5 separate regions of the Homo sapiens genome follow, and all the other regions are linked to region 3. Evidence: promoter capture Hi-C in 16 types of primary human blood cells and fetal thymus (Javierre and others, 2016). All regions are on one chromosome and are shown on one strand. Each heading gives the region's core, a stretch centred on a gene start or on the middle of the fragment in contact. The rest is flanking DNA. Distances are from core to core; before and after follow the strand shown. Region 1 overlaps LSG1 (large 60S subunit nuclear export GTPase 1). Region 2 overlaps ATP13A3 (ATPase 13A3). Region 3 holds the start of ACAP2 (ArfGAP with coiled-coil, ankyrin repeat and PH domains 2). Region 4 has its middle 5.4 kb from the start of FAM43A. Region 5 has its middle 5.2 kb from the start of TMEM44-AS1.

Region 1 (3,459 bases), core at 1-2,500, 790 kb before region 3:
GTGTGACAAACACTCTCTCCTCTCCAAAGGAAGAGGATAGTTTTTGATTAATCTAAAAAGACTCAGTTGTTTTTTCCCTTTTAAACAAGGCCTTAAGCTCCCACGACTTTTCCATATGAATTCATTTAAAATAGTAATTTAAAATATATCTGAAACAGACTTTAAAGATGACACATTTTTACCCTGAAAAGATTACGCATTTGTGATTCTAATTTAGAGATAAAGCAAGGGGAGTCTCTGTTTCTAATGCCTACAGTTAGGCAGGATTACTTTTCCTCCTTTGTCTCATCTCCCATAGTTTGTCCAAATTTTCCTTAAGCCACTAACAATATTCTACCTTGTACTAGAGTTATTCAAGTACATGCCTCATGTGCCCCAACAGACTGATGCTTCGTAAAGGGCAGGAGCCATCTCTATTTATGCCCTATCCTCCACAGCACCTAACCTAAGGCTACCTGCAATAAATGATTCATGTCTCACTATTAATTTACAGAGAAACTTAAAAGGCCAGGCGTGGTGGCTCACGCCTGTAATCCCAGCATTTTGGGAGGTCGAGGCAGGCAGATTATCTGAGGTCAAGAGTTTGAGACCAGCCTGGCCAACATGGTGAAACCCCATCTCTACCAAAAAAAAAAAAAAAAAATTAACTGGGCATGGTGGTACATGCCTGTTAATCCCAGCTACTCGGGAGGCTGAGGCAGGAGAATTGCTTGAACCCAGGAGGTGGAGGTTGCAGTGAGCAGAGATTGCACCACTGTACTCCAGCCTGGGTGACAGAGCGAGACTCCATCTCAAAAACAAAAAAAAAAGCTATACACTTTTTCATATATATGTATCTATGAATAAGCTGTGGCCTTAAGTGTAGTTATGAAGGGAATTTTACTCTACTTACAAGCCAGCGGATTAGTGTGCCAATTTCATGAAGTCTCCTATTTTCTGCTAGTATCTACAAAACAATAATAGACTAACTTATTAGCTTATAAGTAGAGTAAAATCTCAGACCTTGCAGTTTTTTTTTTCTTTCATTTTCTTTTTTCTTAAAGGCAAGAGTCTCGCTTTGTGGCCCAGGCTGGAGGGCAGTGGCACCATCTCAGCTCACTGCAACCTCCGCCTCCCAGGTTCAAGAGATTATCGTGCCTCAGCCTCCCGAGTAGCTGGGACTACAGGTGTGCACCACCACGCCCAGCTAATTTTTGTATTTTTAGTAGAGACAGGGTTTCGCCATGTTGGCCAGGCTGGTCTCAAAACCTGGCCTTAAGTGATCCGCCTGCCACAGCCTCCCAAAGTGTTGGGGTTACAGGCATGAACCACCACACCTGGCCCCTGCATAGTTCTTAACAAATCCATCTTTGAGTCTTTTTTCCATGCTGGGCACTGTCCTAGATGCTTTATGTAAGTTAATTCATTATGCTGCTGAGAGGTAGCAGAGTTCCTAATTTACTGCTTACTAGCTATAAGAGCTTAGATAAATTATTTAACTTCTCTGTGCCTCAGTTTCCTCAAGTTTGAGGAAATGGGAATAACAGCAGTATCTGCCTTAAGCGTTGCTTTTTGAGGACTAAAAGGTATTTGGTAAGGGTTTAGAAAAGCACATAGCAAGTATTCAATATATGTTAGCTATACTGATTAAATATAATCAACCGTGAGATAGATTTTCCCCCACTTAGAGAAAAGGAAAGTATTTGGGAAGGTTAAGCAAGTTTTCCAAGGTCATTCAAACGGTTACATGGCATTGTTAAATAGGTTTGCAACTTGGAACTGAGTATCTGAAACCTGGATTCTCCCATTTCTTCAAGGCTACACTGCTGAAATCAGGAAATGAGGTTCTATTCTGAAGTTCTCATGCTATCTCACAGTATAAACTTGTGCAGATCACTAGTATTTTCAATTCTTCATCAAATCTGAATCCCTCAAATGCCCAAAATAAACCTGAAGCCCTAATATGCACGTAATAACTAGAGTGTTTCCAAAGCAGAAAGGATATTAGTGATACAGGAGGAACATGATCTCTCATCTGATCAATTGGGAGGATTCCGCTGCAAGTCATTTCTGCCTTGGTAGACACAAAAGATGGCATCACCAAGCCAGGACAGTCACACAGGCAGAGGCCAGGCTCCACATAGAGAGTCTGGAAGACAAGCAAGAGGTTTGAGCTGGGTATACAACAGATAAAAGGAAGAAAGAGCTGCATGCAAGTGGCAAAGCACCACAGAAATACCTGAAAGTGCTTTGTGTGACCAGGTGTGGCAGACACAGATACTTTCTTGTTGCCCATGATGGTGTTGATTGTTGAACTCTTACCAACATTAGGGTAGCCCACCTAGAAGAGACTCAGAAGTTACCAAACAGTAAAACAGTACATCTATCAAAAGACTCAAAGATATGACATAGATGGTGGCAAGACTAGCATAAGCATCTGGTTACTTTAGAAAATTATTTGAAATCCATGCTGTGTTTGTTGAGACATCTTTTTTCTCCTGTGGTGTGGGTATATTTATTCAGACACATCTCCAGTGACAAATGGCCAAGTTATGCACATTTTAATATTATATGTTTTGCTGTTAACAGCAGATGCTACAGAAAATTTCATCCCCTTGTTCCCAGCCTTCCCTCACTGCCCCATCTACAGACAGTGGTTTCCATCGCATCTTCCACACTGGGTGAGGCTGATCGGATGGACATTTGAATAATCACAACACACAATTATTTTTAATTTTCAGTCACGTTTTAGTTAAAGCCAAGTGGAATGTCTGGCATGTGGCAGGTGATCAATAAGTGTCTGCAGAATTTCTAGAGTAAGAAATTCAGAAAATGAGGGAGGATGCTCAGTTTTTCCATAAATGTGAGAAAACTTGTAGAGAAGCTGAACTTTCTGATACAAATTTTTAGCAACAATATAGAGAATGAAGCTTTAAAGCTCAGAGACATTAAGCAACTTTCCCCGTGTTCCTAACAAGTTAGTTCTACTGCTGAATTGGGAATTACACCTAGGTCTGTCTGATTCCACAGACAGCTCTTTTAACTACTGCACTAAAATAAGATGCTAATCTACTGTAGTCATTTTAAACAGGCATTTTGGGGCAGGGGGTTGGGGCAGAGAGAAGGGGGCTCAAAACTAACTAGGATTAGCTACACTTAGCATGTAACTGAAAAGCTGGGAGACTTTAAACATGCCATGACCTCCTTTCCCTCACTGTTATATTCTGGATAGGTCTTTATAATCAATACCTTCTCTAACATCTCACATCTCCTTAGCTAAGGATGGGGCCATCTAGAGCCATGTCGTAGCCCCTCGGGGTTTGCGCACTTCCGCAGCCACTTCTGGAATTAGGGTATGTAAGGCTGGGGATGGGATCTGCTTTCCCCTATCTACTATGCAGTGTTTATGCAACTAATGCATTTGTCATATTTCGTCCAGCCCCAAGATGCTGGGATTCTCCCTATTAAGCATCTGGAACA
Region 2 (3,409 bases), core at 116-2,615, 960 kb before region 3:
GGTACCCTTTATCACCTCTATCTGGCAAATAAAAAAGCTCTCAGAGGTTCAGTGACTTACTTAACCCAGACTACAAGACTGGTATGTGACAGAGCTGTAATTCAAAATCACTATGGCTCTGAAGCCCACATTTTTATCCAATACACCATGCCCTCTCCCAGGACATAAGACTGTTAAGTTTTTAGCCACCATCATGTTTTTACATACTCATGTTTTCTTACTGTGCTATCCCCAGAGTAATACTTAAGTTTAGATACTTTAAATTTCATGGAATCCATTAATAATTTACATCGCTCTTTTAAAACAATGCAGATCTTGCTAGCAGTAAGGAATAAATTTATTCTTTAAAAAAACAAAACAAAAACACTCAAAGTAGTTGAGTATCCCCTCAGAATGACAGACAGTACCAATAATCTCCTAATATTCTCAACTTTATTACCTAGCCTTTTAATTATACTAGATCTTTTTGTGGCATAACCTTACGGAGATAGCAGATGTTCATAAATACCTAAGTTATTTCTCCATTATTCACACTGTGGAGTCACATCATATATGCACTTAATTAAAACCAATTCAACTACTTACACTCTGGGGGGAAGCAACAGAGAAAAATAATTTGAATAATGATGATAGTATGCCTTCCTTTACATCCCTGTCCCAGAGTGAGCATGAAATGAAGACTATAAATCCGCTATGCTCAGTCAATCTAAGACCCATTCACCTGTCAAAACGGTCTCACACAGCTGGTGAGGATTCCAGCTCACCAAAAAAGGGACCTCTCTAAAACTACAGGAAAAACTGGACACTAGAATTGAAAGACAGAATGTCAGTTTCCAACCAGTTTTCAAACTGGTGCCTTTTTAAAAGACTTTTTCCAAGGGTAATTTTGACTACACAGGATTTTTATCTGAGAATTTAGGCCCAAAGGCCCCATGAGCAGTGATTGCACTTTATTCAGCTCTTTAGATCAATCAGAAAAAAATCAGGACCCAAAACACTTGTCTTTTATATCAAAATAAATAACTAAAATATATTTCATCCTATTTCACAAATGGAAAAAAAAAAAAACAGAGCAACAGGGATGCTATGAAGAAACCACCCTTAGACACATATGTGGGAGCAATTCCATGACTCATTTTAAACAAACTAAAAATAGTTTGTTTCAAGAAGTCTGTCAAGCAAGCAAAGGCAACCCTTAAAAGTTGGCTCTCACTGGAAAAAAAAAATGCAAAAGTTTTGAGATGTGCCATTACTACAGAGTACAAAATTAAAGCAAGGGTGAAAGGAACACCCAAGCTAGAGAAAGGATCTGGGGTTAGACCATAAAGGATCCTTTATGCTGTCACTTACTTCACTTTCCTCTTCTCTAAAAAGGCACTAATCTAAATAATCCATGATCTCTCCGCATTATTTTCCAGTCTCACACCTCTTTATTTCAATGTTCAACTCCTTTGTGAAAAAAAAATAAGAAAAACTCACTGAGCTAGAACCATCTTTCACCTTACCACCCAACATCAGTTACAAGTATTTTTACTTCAAACTTGAGAAAGATTCTGTAGACATCAGCAATTTCCAGACCACATAATTAGGAAATTCTACTTTACATACTTAAGTGACTTTTTCTGGAAATTTAATTTCTTATCTAACTAGTCTCTGAGTGTCAATTGATCATTTAAAACCAAGATCCACAGGGAGTAAGTGTAAGAATCAACAAAAAAGACAAAATTCTGATTAACAGATTAATTTTGCGGTCTTGACGTTTACTATTCGAGTTAATGTTTTACCATCTCAGACTCTAGCAAAGGTTCCAATATGACCCTGTGGGTCTAAGATGTTAACAGATATGGTATTGGCATAGTTCCCTCTAGAGAATCATTTTATGGAAACTTTTCAGCAATCACCATCCTCAAACAACCTTCCTCAGTGTCAGACACTTATTTGGACAGTTCTCTCCTTTATTCCGTTTTTCTCCCTTCTTACTGATTACCATAAAGTCATTTTTTAAACTATCATAACAGTGATCATTTTTTCCAATTACCATTTACTCATGTCATCTCATTTTACCTCTATTTTTAACCTGATTAATACAAATTATTTTTGGTTGTTTTAAGACAAAGTCTTGCTTTGTCACTCAGGCTGGTCTCAAACTCCTGGCCTCAAGCCATCCTCCTGCCTTGGCCTCCCAAAGCACTGGGATTTCAAGCATGAGTCACTGTGCATAACCTACTAACACAAATCGTTTTAACTCCTTTTATAATCACTAGTTATCTAGTGATAACTGATTAACTGTGGACCTTCTTCTACCTTACAAATATCTACTTTTCTCCAGATTAATTTGAGCCCAGAACTTTTTCATTTTTTTAAACCTAAATCTTAATTAAAATTATGTGCCAGAAATCTGAGCCTCTCTTACTTCTCTACTCTCAAAATATGATGTTCAACAAAACTCAAACGAGAACCTAACAATTTCCTTGCTTCTTGCATGCTATTTGAACTTAAGTGGTTAATTAGAACATGGTTTTGGCTGGGCAAGGTGGCTCATGTCTGTAATTCCTACACTTTGGGAGGCTGAGGCAGGAGGATCACTTGAGGCCAGGAGTTCTGAGACAAGCCTGGGCAACAAACCGAGATACTCATCTCTACAAAAAAATTTTAAAGGCCGGGCGTGGTGGCTCACGCCTGTAATCCCAGCAGTCTGGAAGGCCGAGGCAGGCGGATCACAAGGTCAGGAGTTCAAGATCAGACTGGTCAACATGGTGAAACCCAGTCTCTACTAAAGATACAAAAAATTAGCCAGGCATGGTGGTGGGCACCTGTAATCCCAGCTACTCGGAAAGCTGAGGCAGGAGAATCGCTTGAACCCAGGAGGCGGAAGTTGCAGTGAGCGGAGATCGCGCCTCTGCACTCCAGCCAGGATGACAGTACAAGACTCCGTCTCAAAAAAAAAAAAAAAATTTTTTTTTAAATTAGCCAGACATGATGGCACACACCCGTTGTCCCAACTACCCTTGTTGCTGAGGCAGGAAGGTCGCCTGAGCCCAGGAACTCAAGGCTGCAGTGAGCCATGATCGTGCCACTACACTCTAGCCTGAGTGAGAGAGCGAGACTCTTTCTCTGGGGGGAAAAAAAAAGAAAAAAGGACGGGGTGCAGTGATAAATGCCTGTAACCCTAACACTTTGGGAGGCCAAGGCAGGCAGACTGCTTCAGTTCAGGAGTTTGAGACCAGCCTGGGCAACACGGTGAAAACCCACCTCTACAAAAAAAAAAAAAACTAGCTGGGTGTGATGGTGCACACCTGTGGTCCCAGCTACTCTGGAAGCTGAGGTGGGAGGACTGCTTGAGCCCAGAAGGTCAAGGCTGCAGTGAGCCATGACAGAGCCACTGCACTCCAGCCTGGGAGACAGAGCA
Region 3 (3,372 bases), core at 560-3,059:
TTAAAAATAAATAGCTGAGTCATAGTAACAAAATTTCACAAAAAGCTGAACTTTCTAAGGTGCACTTTAAAAATTACTCCACTTGCCATGCTGTCCTGGAAACCAACCTGCACGCCTGTCCTAGGAAATCTATTTGTGTCTCTTGAGTCCTTCAATAATGCAGAACATAAAAGTTTCAAAAATGAATCGCAACAACAGCTATCAAAGGAAGTGGGTTTTTTTAAATAATAGCCCTAGGCTCCAATAAAATTAATACCCAAAAATCATCAAAGGGCAAACGCAAAAAGCGTTCTTAAATTTTCTCTAAGTAGCAGTTCCTTAGTTTTACAATTCTTTTCTTTTTCGCTGAAAGGAGAATAAGAAATCCAATTAACAGTGTTAAGGATGAGAACAGTTAGTTCCCAGGCAGAGGATGCAATTTACAATCCAGGCTTGGCCCAGACATTAGCGGGCACACACACGCCAGTGCTCAGAGGAAGCTTCAAGAAATGTCACTATCTAACGGAAGTGTTAAGGCCTTATATTTGTAAGGACTATGACCAGCCCTGTAAATAAATACACTGTAAAACGCAACCTAGAAAAACTCCATTGTCCAAAACAACTCAAGACTTTCCTACTATCCTCAAAACAGAAAGAACCTGTGTCCTGGACGGCCTCAGGACGACCGCCTCTCACATAGAAAGAAGGGCAACCCATGTGAATCGGAGTGCCCCCATGTCAACTCTGTGACAGATCCACTGGGAGCATCCGACTGTGATCCGGGCCCTCCTGGGCAGAGGCTGCTGGAAGAGGAACACACAGGCAATCTTCACGGCCCTCCTACTTCCGTTCTCAAAACAGAAATGCACTTTTCTGCTAGTCCTCCGCCCTCAGCCCGGTACCTCTCGACAGCTGTGCCCCCTTCAACGAGCTTAAGTGGAAAGAAAAGCAGGTAGTCACCAACTAGGGTCCACGGAATGCGGTTGATCACAGCGCTTCCCCCCGCGATTCCCGCACGCATCCACCGCGGGCGCCCTCCGGAGAGTCGCTCTGGCCGGGGGCACCGCGAAGCAGAAGTCGGCGTCCCAGTTCGCCCCCTACTCTCTCCTCCCCGGGGAAGGGGGGCAGAAAAGCGCAAAGAGGAACTAAATGAACTGCAAGAGGATGCCCTGAAAGCTCCCTCAAAGAGGGGGTGGGGAGGGGGTGGAAACCAAGAAGGGGCGGAAGGAAGGGGGAAGGAAGAGCAGCCAGAGGAGGAAGGGGGCGAGAGCGAGCGCCCGCGAAGGGGACGGGACTTCGGGAGCGCGGCTGCACCCCATTTCCCCCAGCGGGAGAGGGTGCGCCGGCCTTCGGGGCGCTCCGCCCCGGCAGAGGGCAAGGAAAGAAATGAGAGGCGACGTCCCCGTCCCCGCCACTTCGTCGCCCCTCGGGAGGGCTCGGTGGGGACTGCAGTGCCCTCGCAGGGTGGGAAACGGCGGCAACAGCCGCTCGCCCCGTCGGAAGGAGCGGACGGCGGGGCCTCCTCCGGGTGCGCGGGCCCGGCTTTCACGCCCCCAGCGCCGGGAAGGCAGCTCCGCGGTGACGCCGGGCGGCCGTGCCGGTTACCTGAAGCGGGGCGAGTCCTTCAGACACTCCTCGAAATCCACAGTCATCTTCATCCTGCCTCCGCCTCGCAGGCGGCGCTGGCAAAGCCGAGGGGGCCGCGGGAGCGGCCGCGCTGGGACGCAGACGGCTACGGCGGGCGCACGGCCGCGACTAGCGTTGCGCGGAGCTGCGAAGGGCGCCTCGCCCGCTGGTCATAGCAGCCGCGAAGACGGCGACGACTAGTCAGGCCCCAGTCCCGCCCCTCTTCCTCCCGCCCCAAGTAGAGCGCTGGCCGCAGGGAAACGGCCGGGGAGTGACAGCAGCGGCCAGCCAGCCACGAACCTGGCGGCCAAGGGGCGGGGCATCCGGCAGCACCGCCTGCGGGCGCCCGGGCAACGGGTCTGAGCGACGGCAACCCGAGCCAATGAGCAGCGCGACCGTGGGCACCTCCTTGCCACAACCGCCCCCGAGGGCCAACCGGGATGCGCGGGCGTCGCTAGGCGGGACGCACCGGTTGCTGGGAGGCCGGCAGCTGAGGTTCCTTGGGAAGGAAGTCACGTGGCTGCGGCCGCGCTTCCCTCCGAGCCCCCGCCTCTTCTCCTGCTCCCCGAGCCCCGCCCTGCTGAGCTGCCAGCCCAGAGGAGCAGTCTCCTGCAGGTCTGAGGAAGGAAATTTGCTTTTCAAAGCAGATTGGCAGAAATCTGAAGAGGTTAGAGGCAGAAATTATAAAAGGAAGAGATAGGCTAAGCCACCTATTCCTTTCAGTTTAGAGAAACTGAGGCCAGAAGAGGAGCGAGGATAACTTTAGTGATAAAATCCATCTTTCATGTATTTGTTCCATAGCTTCATAATCTGGAAATTGCTCCCATGTACATCTTCTCATATAGCCAGAGACCACTTCCTGAAGGAGCTGCCGTTTGGGTTGGACATAGAAAGATTTAGGCAGGTATGGGAGGTAGGGTGCTTCGTGTGGAGGAACTCCTCTCAAAACTGCCGAAAGCATTCCCCCTCACTGACACTTTGCTCCTGGTGGTTTTCACTGTTCTGCCATGGTGGGGTTCTGAAGACCAGGCTCATCGTACTCACCTTGCAACACCTGCCCCTCTAATCCACACTTTTTCTAGAAGCACTTTAAGATACTTATCATCTGATCCTCACGGCAGGTATTTACCATACTCCTTCATTTTAAGATGCCATTGATTGTAAAAAGTACAAAGATGTCTTATATGTAATGAGTAATTTTTAAGCCAACCTAAAAAACACGGGCGTATCTATAAAAATGAATATACAGGGTGTTCTAACAGCATAGTGGCTCTGAGTGAGAATCTGGAGGCAAACTTCCTGGATTTAGGTCCCAGCTTTCTCACTTTAAAATGAACATAACACACAGATCTGATGAAGTTGTCCGGTTAACACAGTGCCACATATCGATCATTCAGTAAATGTTGGCTATTTTAATTGTACCATTTGCCTCTTCAGTACTATAATCAAAGGGCTTAAGTCTAAGTTCTCTCACTTTCACTGTCTGAAGTTTTTGTTTGTCTCAAAAACAATCAAACAATTTCGTTCCGTTCCCCAGGCTGGTCTCAAACTCATGGCCTCAAGTGATCCTTCTGTCTCAGCCTCCCAAAATGCTGAGATTACAGGTGTGAGCCACACACCCAGCCTTCTAAAGTCTTAATATAACTTTCTGACCGTCTGGCTAAGTATAGCGTGATGACATACTGTTTTTCGTAACCCATCAAGAGATATCTTGATCTCTTTAGCATCTTTAGAAATTAACAGTATAGACAGGGCATGGTGGCTCAC
Region 4 (3,337 bases), core at 794-3,293, 750 kb before region 3:
ACCCAGTTGGGGGATGGCGCGAAGGTCGAGGGGGAGAGGAGCTGTTAGAGCGCGGTATGGGTGTGCATGTTTCAGCGCTTTCATGCTTTCTGTGTGTTTGTTTCTGTTGTAAACTCCAAACAGATGTCTCTAGTTTGGCTACACCCGATCAGCTGGAAGTTGTAATAAGATGCTGCCAAAACTGTGCCTTCTGCAAATTATATTTTCCTTTTGCCCCTTGAGGCCTCTCTTCCTGTGTTGCAGAAATGGATCTCACTCCTGGCCTTCCCTGGTGTCCTGAGGCCACTTTGCTTTGTTTTCATCATAAATATGTTCTGAGCAGCTAGACCCAGAAATCCTAAGGAGTCTGGAATTCACTGGAACCATAGAGGAAAGAGGGGTGAAAGATTTTCTTCCTAATTAACAGGAATGGTTCAGGCATAGAACTATCTTTAAAAAAGAAAAGCAAAGGGGGCGAGTGGAAAATATGTGTGTGTGTGTGTGTGTGTGTGTGTGTGTGTATATATATATATATTTTTTTTTTTTTTTTGAGACGGAGTTTCACTCTTGTCACCCAGGCTGGAGTGCAATGGTGCAATCTCAGCTCACCGCAACCTCCACCTCCCGGGTTCAAGCGATTCTCCTGCCTCAGCCTCCCAAGTAGCTGGGATTACAGGCATGCGCCACCACGCCGGGCTAATTTTGTATTTTTAGTAGAGATGGGGTTTCTCCATGTTGGTCAGGCTGGTTTCAAACTCCCGACCTCAGGTGATCTGCCCACCTTAGCCTACCAAAGTGCTGGCATTACAGGCGTGAGCCACTGTACCCAGCTGAGTGGAAAACATTTAAAAAAAATTCAGTCTTAAGGGCCTTAGGACGTCCAGGCCTTTGAATCTATTATATTTTGGCTTGGTTGTGCGTCCCGATCCCTCTCCCTGAATACCTCAGATACACATCATTGAATGACATTAAAAACCCCAGCTAGAGAGAGGTCAGGAAAGTCCAGTCTCAGCCCAGCCACCCATCCCAGCCCTTCCACACCAGTGTGCTCACCTGATAAGCAGACGGCTGTGTGGGCCATCACTAGCCTGCGTGACTAGATTTCACATTTGAAATTATTCCCATGCATAGCCAAGTTCCTCTGCTGTTTGAAACTGATGAAGAGATGAGACAGAGTGAAGATAATATGGCTAATACTTGGGAGACAGGGCAGGGTCTGTGTGTCTTCATTCTTATCTAGTTTAAGTGTCCTGTGAGAATGCCAATGTTGGCTTTCATCTGTGACTGACAGGCATGTGGTGGTTGGTCCAAAAGTTCAGGCAAATAGTGTTGAAACCAACACCATCAATAAATATAAAGCAGCCATCTCTTTAAAGTCTGATATTTCCTCTCATGTGATTTATAAATAGGAAGGGGGGCTTGAAGGTTGAGGAGGAGGAAGAAGAAAATAAGCAGGCTGGAAAGAGCCAGCTCCCTTCCTCCTCCGTCTGTGCCCTCCCCATCTCTCCTTCCTCCCCTCTGCTTTTTGGCATCGATCCCCACTGCACCTCAGAGCTCTGACTGATGTAATTCTAGAAGAGATGTGAAGGTGACACGTGATTCACCTCTTCTGACTTCTCAGTCTTCCAGGGATGATATCACTAGAGTAAGAAGAGATGTTTTGAATGAAAATAAAAGAAAGACCCTAAAACTACTTTGCTCCTGGAGCTCAGAGGGAAAAGAATGGAGCGACAAAAGCAAAGCTAAGTCATTAGATAAAATACACCTTCCAGAAAACACCTGAAGTCTGGTTTACTCATCAAATTTAGCTTTTCTTTCCTGCAAAGTGAGGCTCATGTTTCTCCATGACTTAACCTGATGGTACTTTAAATGCACTGAGACACTTTCCACGTTCTTTCCCAGCCTAGGTAATCCTCCGTGTTCAACAATGCAGCATCGACTGCATGAAAAACAGGGTGACTCCCGGCGGCACGCGGTCCTCCAGGGGTGGCAGCGTGAGTCTGGGAGGAGGCATTCATCGACTCCTCACAGCACAAACATCCCATGTTCACTTCTACCATTTGTCGCATATGTAAGCAGGAAGGTGGGAGGAATAAAATGGCATAAAATAAACAATAGTATTTCATACCCTCCCAACTATGACAGCTTCAGAGAACCCCCTCCACACACACGTGTGTGGACACACATGGTTTCCCTAAAGAAACACCTCTCACTGCCCCACAGTCAGCAGAACAGATTTTAACCAAATTAGAAAGGCTCTGTTATACTAAGAAAGCACAATTCCCTCCCAGGGGACAGAGCTGTTTTTGAGGGTTCTGCTTGTGAGTAGAGAGAGAACTGGTTGGAAGAATCTACCCCTGGCACCATACTGGAGATTTAAAAATCTCATTGTAGTTGCCAAGGATCACGAGAAACATAGAAATTCTATTAGGAGCAAGTTGCCGTCTTTTTAAACAGGATTTAGTAATTTAATAAGCAGAACTCTTTCCTCTGTGTGGTATGCATCAGTAGTCCCAGCATCTGCTGCTAAGTGATGCATGACAGAGCTAGAAATGTGCACGGACTGCTGGGGTAGGAGCCATGACTGACACATGGGGAACTACTCAGGGCTCCAGGCAGCCAGGAGGGTGCTAGGCCCAGGGCGCTCTGCACTCTCTGCTCCAGGCTTGTTGCACATGTCCACTGTCTTAGTCCGTTTCGTGTTGCTATAAAGAATACCTGAGGCTGGGTAATTTATTTATATTTATTGATTTATTTATTTTGAGACAGAGTTTCACTCTTGTTGCCCAGGCTAGAGTGCAATAGCATGACCTTGGCTCACCACAACCTCCATCTCCCGGGTTCAAGCGATTCTCCTGCCTCAGCCTCCCGAGTAGCTGGGAATATAGGTGCCCTCCACCTCACCCGGCTAATTTTGTGCTTTTTTTTTTTTTTAGTAGAAACAGGGTTTCACCATGTTGGTCAGGCTGGTCTTGAGCTCCTGACCTCAAGTGATCCACCCGCCTTGGCCTCCCGAAGTGCTGGGATTACAGGCATGAGCCACCATGCCTGGCAAGGCTGGGTAATTTATAAAGGAAAGAGGTTTATTTGGCTCAAGGTTCTGCAGGCTGTACAAGAAGTGTGGTGCCAGCTTCTGCTCTGGTGAGGCCTCAGGCTGCTTGCACTCATGGCGGGAGGTGAACTGGAGCAGGAATCAAATGGCAAGAGGAAGGAAGCAAGAGATAGGGAGAAGGGCAGTGCCAGGCTCTTTTGGACAACCTGCTCTCGAGTGAGAGAGAAATCACTCATTGCCTCCGTCTCCCCACAGGGAGAGCATTAACCTATTCATAAGGGATCCACCTCCATGACCCAAATACCT
Region 5 (3,521 bases), core at 1-2,500, 860 kb before region 3:
TCTCCTGCCTCAGCCTCCCGAATAGCTGGGATTACAGGTGCCCACCACCACACCCAGCTAATTTTTTTGTATTTTTAGTAGAGACAGGGTTTCACCGTGTTAGCCAGGATGTTCTCGATCTCCTGACCTCATCATCCGCCTGCCTCAGCCTCCCAAAGTGCTGGGATTACAGGCGTAAGCCACCACGCTGGCCCCATAGCTCAGACTTTTAACATTGAAAAAGTCTTGAAAGCCATCTGATCCAACTCTCTGGTCAATGGTAACATCTTCCCCAAACCATCTTTTAATTTTTGAGATGGAGTCTCGCTCTGTCTCCCAGGTAGAGTGCAGTGGTGCCAACTTGGCTCACTGCAGCCTCCGCCTCCTGGGTTCAATGGATTCTCCTGCCTCAGCCTCCCAACTAGCTGGGATTACAGGTGTGCGTCATGATGCCCGACTAATTTTTGTATTTTTAGTAGAGATGGGATTTCACCATGTTGGCCAGGCTGGTCTCAAACTCCTGGCCTGAAATGATCCACCCACCTTGGCCTCCCAAAGTGCTGGGATTACAGGTGTGAGGCACCGTGCCTGGCCCAAAACATCTCTATAGGTGGGTTGAGGCTGTGTTGGAATTACTCCAGTAACACGGAGCCCGTGCAACCATTGCAGCTCAGACAGGACCACATGAAAGCTCTCCTTTACCCTAACTTACAGTCTTTCTCTGTATCACATGCCCATTAGCTCAATCCTCTCCTCCTGAAGACCAATCCAAAGGCATCAGCTCCTTTCCACTCTGCGGGCTCTGTGCTACCACCCCTAACGTGACAAGACCAATATCCAGGACTGAGCCTAGGCCTTGCTTCCCACCCCGTGAAGTAGGAGGCTGCCAGCCCCTGCTCGGCTGGGACACTGACTCATTCGTGACAGTGTGGGTGAGTCACTGCTTGCCTACAAGGGGTCTACTTCCCGGTTAAGGTGCTATTAAAAGGGTAACAGCCTCTGCCACTCTGCTCACTCAGGAGACAGTGGAGCATCTAAGGTGTCTCAATCTTGCCTCCTCAGAAGTTCAAAGGTCTTTACTTATACAATCTCATAATAAAAATATACTCAGGACCTAAAAGACATCCTGATGACTTTTAAAGAAATATGGAACTAGACCTAAAACAGGGGATGCTAGCTGGGCTGGGTGGCACGTGCCTGTAGTCCCACCTACTAGGCTGGCTAAGGTGGGAGGATCGTTGAGCCAGGAGTTTGAGAACAGCTGGGCAACATAGCCAGACCCTGTGTCTTAAAGAAAAAAAAAGAGAGAGAATCTACAAAACTAACTGCTTCATGCTAAGGAAGTAATAATAATAACTGATACCTTTATAGCATTTGGGAGTGGAAAGGCCCTTTCATGGTTTGCTTTTAGTTTTTTTCTGTGTGTGTGTGTGTTTTTTTTTTTTTGGATGGAGTTTTGCTCTTGTTGCCCAGGCTGGAGTGTAATAGCACGATCTCAGCTCACTGCAAGCTCCACCTCCCTGGTTCAAGTGATTCTCCTGCCTCAGCCTCCTGAGTAGCTGGGATTACAGGCACCCACCACCATGCCCAGCTAATTTCTGTATTTTTAGTAGAAACGGGGTTTCACCATGTTGGCCATGCTGGTCTTGATCACCTCAGGTGATCCGCCCCTCTCAAAGTGCTGGGATCACAGGCGTGAGCCTCCACGCCCGGCATGGTTTCTAGTTTTTGGAGGCACCATAGAGTAAAGCAGGTAGAAGAGGAGTACACTTTTTTTCTTTCTTTCTTTTCTTTTTTTTTTAATGAACAAGAATAGGAGTCCCACAGTTGGTGAATGGTGGGAGTTAGGACTGGTCCCCATCAGAGCTGGCGTTCTGGAGACCACACAGGTGCTGACAGCCCCGGGCACTGATGTGCGTCAGCTCGGGCCGAGTGCTGGCTGCCCTGGCTGGGATTGGCAGCAGCACTTCTGAGCCTGGCGCTTTATTGTGTACTATCTTATCTCAATAGGAAAAGGCAATTCAGGGGAAGAATTTCCCTGTCACAGTGCTCCAGACTTTCCATTGTCCAGCTTTCTTAGTCCTGGGTCATCCCCTGGGTCTGACCATTACTCATATCCATGGAGGCACCTTATCAGGGCTGTCTAAGATATGGGGCCTATTTTTTTCTCAGTACCAGACAAACTGGAATTTATCCACCCTTTGTGGCCTGACATCACACGACAATTAGTCGGCCCAGAATCCAGCCACATTTGGGAAGCTGCTTGAAAAGCAGTCTCTAATAACCAGCTCTTTCCTTGCAAAGCCCTAGAATTTCAGGGTCCTCTGCTGGCAACAGTGGTGGAGATGCGTGGAGACCCCATCTCATGATGGGCCAACTGTGAGACTCTTTCTTTTTTTTTTTTTTTTTTTTTTTGAGATGGAGTCTCGCTCTGTTGCCCAGGCTGGGGTGCAGTGGTGCAATCTCAGCTCACTGCAGCTTCTGACTCCTGGGTTCAAGAAATTCTCCTACCTCAGCCTCCCGAGTAGCTGGGATTACAGGTGCCCACCACCACGCCTGGCTAATTTTTGTATTTTTAGTAGACAGGGTTTCACCACGTTGGCCAGGTTGGTCTCGAACTGCTGACCTCAGGTGATCCACCCGCCTCAGCCTCCCAAAGTGCAGGGATTATAGGCGTGAGCCACTGTGCCCGGCCTTTTTTTGTTTTTGAGATGGAGTTTCGCTCTTGTTGCCCAGGCTGGAGTGCAATGGCGCCATCTCAGCTCACCGCAACCTCCGCCTCCTGGCTCCAAGCAATTCTCCTGCCTCAGCCTCCTGAGTAGCTGGGATTACAGGCAGGTGCCACCACACCCGGCTAATTTTGTATTTTTAGTAGAAACAGGGTTTCTCCATGTTGGTGAGGCTGGTCTCGAACTCCTGACCTCAGGTGATCCACCTGCCTCGGCCTCCCAAAGTGCTGGGATTACAGGCGTGAGCCACGCCTGGCGAGAATCTTTCTTTACTCCTGTTCTTTCTCACCCAGCTGGCTTTGAAAAACTTCCAACCTACAGAAAAGATGAAAGAATAACGAACATGTTTATGCTATTCGCCTAGATTAATCCATTGTTCCCGTTTTTCCGTTTGCTTTGTCTCTCTCCAACTACCTGAAAAATTTATAATTTTTTTCTGCTGAAATATTTAAAAGTCAGTTGCTTGGGGCCAGGTGCGGTGGCTCACACCTGTAATCCCAGCACTTTGGGAGGCCAAGGCGGGAGGATCACGAGGTCAGGAGATCGAGACCATGGTGAAACCCCGTCTCTACTAAAAATACAAAAAAAAATTAGCCAGGCATGGTGGCAGGCGCCTGTAGTCCCAGCTACTCAGGAGGCTGAGGCAGGAGAATGGTGTGAACCCGGGAGGCGGAGCTTGCAGTAAGCCGAGATCATGCCACTGCACTCCAGCCTGGGCGAGAGAGCGAGACTCTGTCTCAAAAAATAAAAATAAAAAATAAAAAATAAAAGTCAGTTGCCAAATCACGGTGCTTCACTCCTAAGTAGTTCAGC

Evidence for each region. Contacts are between HindIII fragments. The CHiCAGO score rates a contact against its expected background, and 5 or more counts as called.
Region 1: a fragment that was not itself captured here is called in contact with the fragment with the promoter of ACAP2 in region 3 in 1 of 17 cell types (naive CD8 T cells); the score reaches 6.9 in naive CD8 T cells.
Region 2: a fragment that was not itself captured here is called in contact with the fragment with the promoter of ACAP2 in region 3 in 1 of 17 cell types (neutrophils); the score reaches 5.1 in neutrophils.
Region 4: a contact is called between a fragment that was not itself captured here and the fragment with the promoter of ACAP2 in region 3, in 2 of 17 cell types (non-activated CD4 T cells and neutrophils). The highest score is 6.8, in non-activated CD4 T cells.
Region 5: a contact is called between a fragment that was not itself captured here and the fragment with the promoter of ACAP2 in region 3, in 1 of 17 cell types (neutrophils). The highest score is 5.8, in neutrophils.

Annotation. Positions count from the first base shown.
Region 1 is chr3:194,648,897-194,652,355 of GRCh38, forward strand. It overlaps LSG1 (large 60S subunit nuclear export GTPase 1), which reads right to left. Exons shown (of 14, transcript NM_018385.3): 9 at 2,219-2,320; 10 at 1,985-2,128. Among named protein-coding and RNA genes, the nearest start is that of TMEM44, 17 kb to the left of the region's middle. The HindIII fragment of the contact is 3,313 bases long and covers 1-2,907 here.
Region 2 is chr3:194,480,169-194,483,577 of GRCh38, forward strand. The region is part of intron 2 of ATP13A3 (ATPase 13A3); the gene reads right to left. Among named protein-coding and RNA genes, the nearest start is that of ATP13A3, 5.1 kb to the right of the region's middle. The HindIII fragment of the contact is 8,673 bases long and covers 1-3,409 here.
Region 3 is chr3:195,441,211-195,444,582 of GRCh38, forward strand. ACAP2 (ArfGAP with coiled-coil, ankyrin repeat and PH domains 2) reads right to left here and starts at 1,810. Exons shown (of 23, transcript NM_012287.6): 1 at 1,585-1,810. The coding sequence starts at 1,637. RefSeq lists enhancers at 725-814, 1,354-1,853 and silencers at 1,265-1,314, 1,335-1,554, 1,675-2,174. The HindIII fragment of the contact is 4,201 bases long and covers 478-3,372 here.
Region 4 is chr3:194,689,644-194,692,980 of GRCh38, forward strand. No RefSeq gene overlaps it. Among named protein-coding and RNA genes, the nearest start is that of FAM43A, 5.4 kb to the left of the region's middle. RefSeq lists an enhancer at 1-56. The HindIII fragment of the contact is 8,231 bases long and covers 1-3,337 here.
Region 5 is chr3:194,577,342-194,580,862 of GRCh38, forward strand. No RefSeq gene overlaps it. Among named protein-coding and RNA genes, the nearest start is that of TMEM44-AS1, 5.2 kb to the right of the region's middle. The HindIII fragment of the contact is 7,555 bases long and covers 1-3,521 here.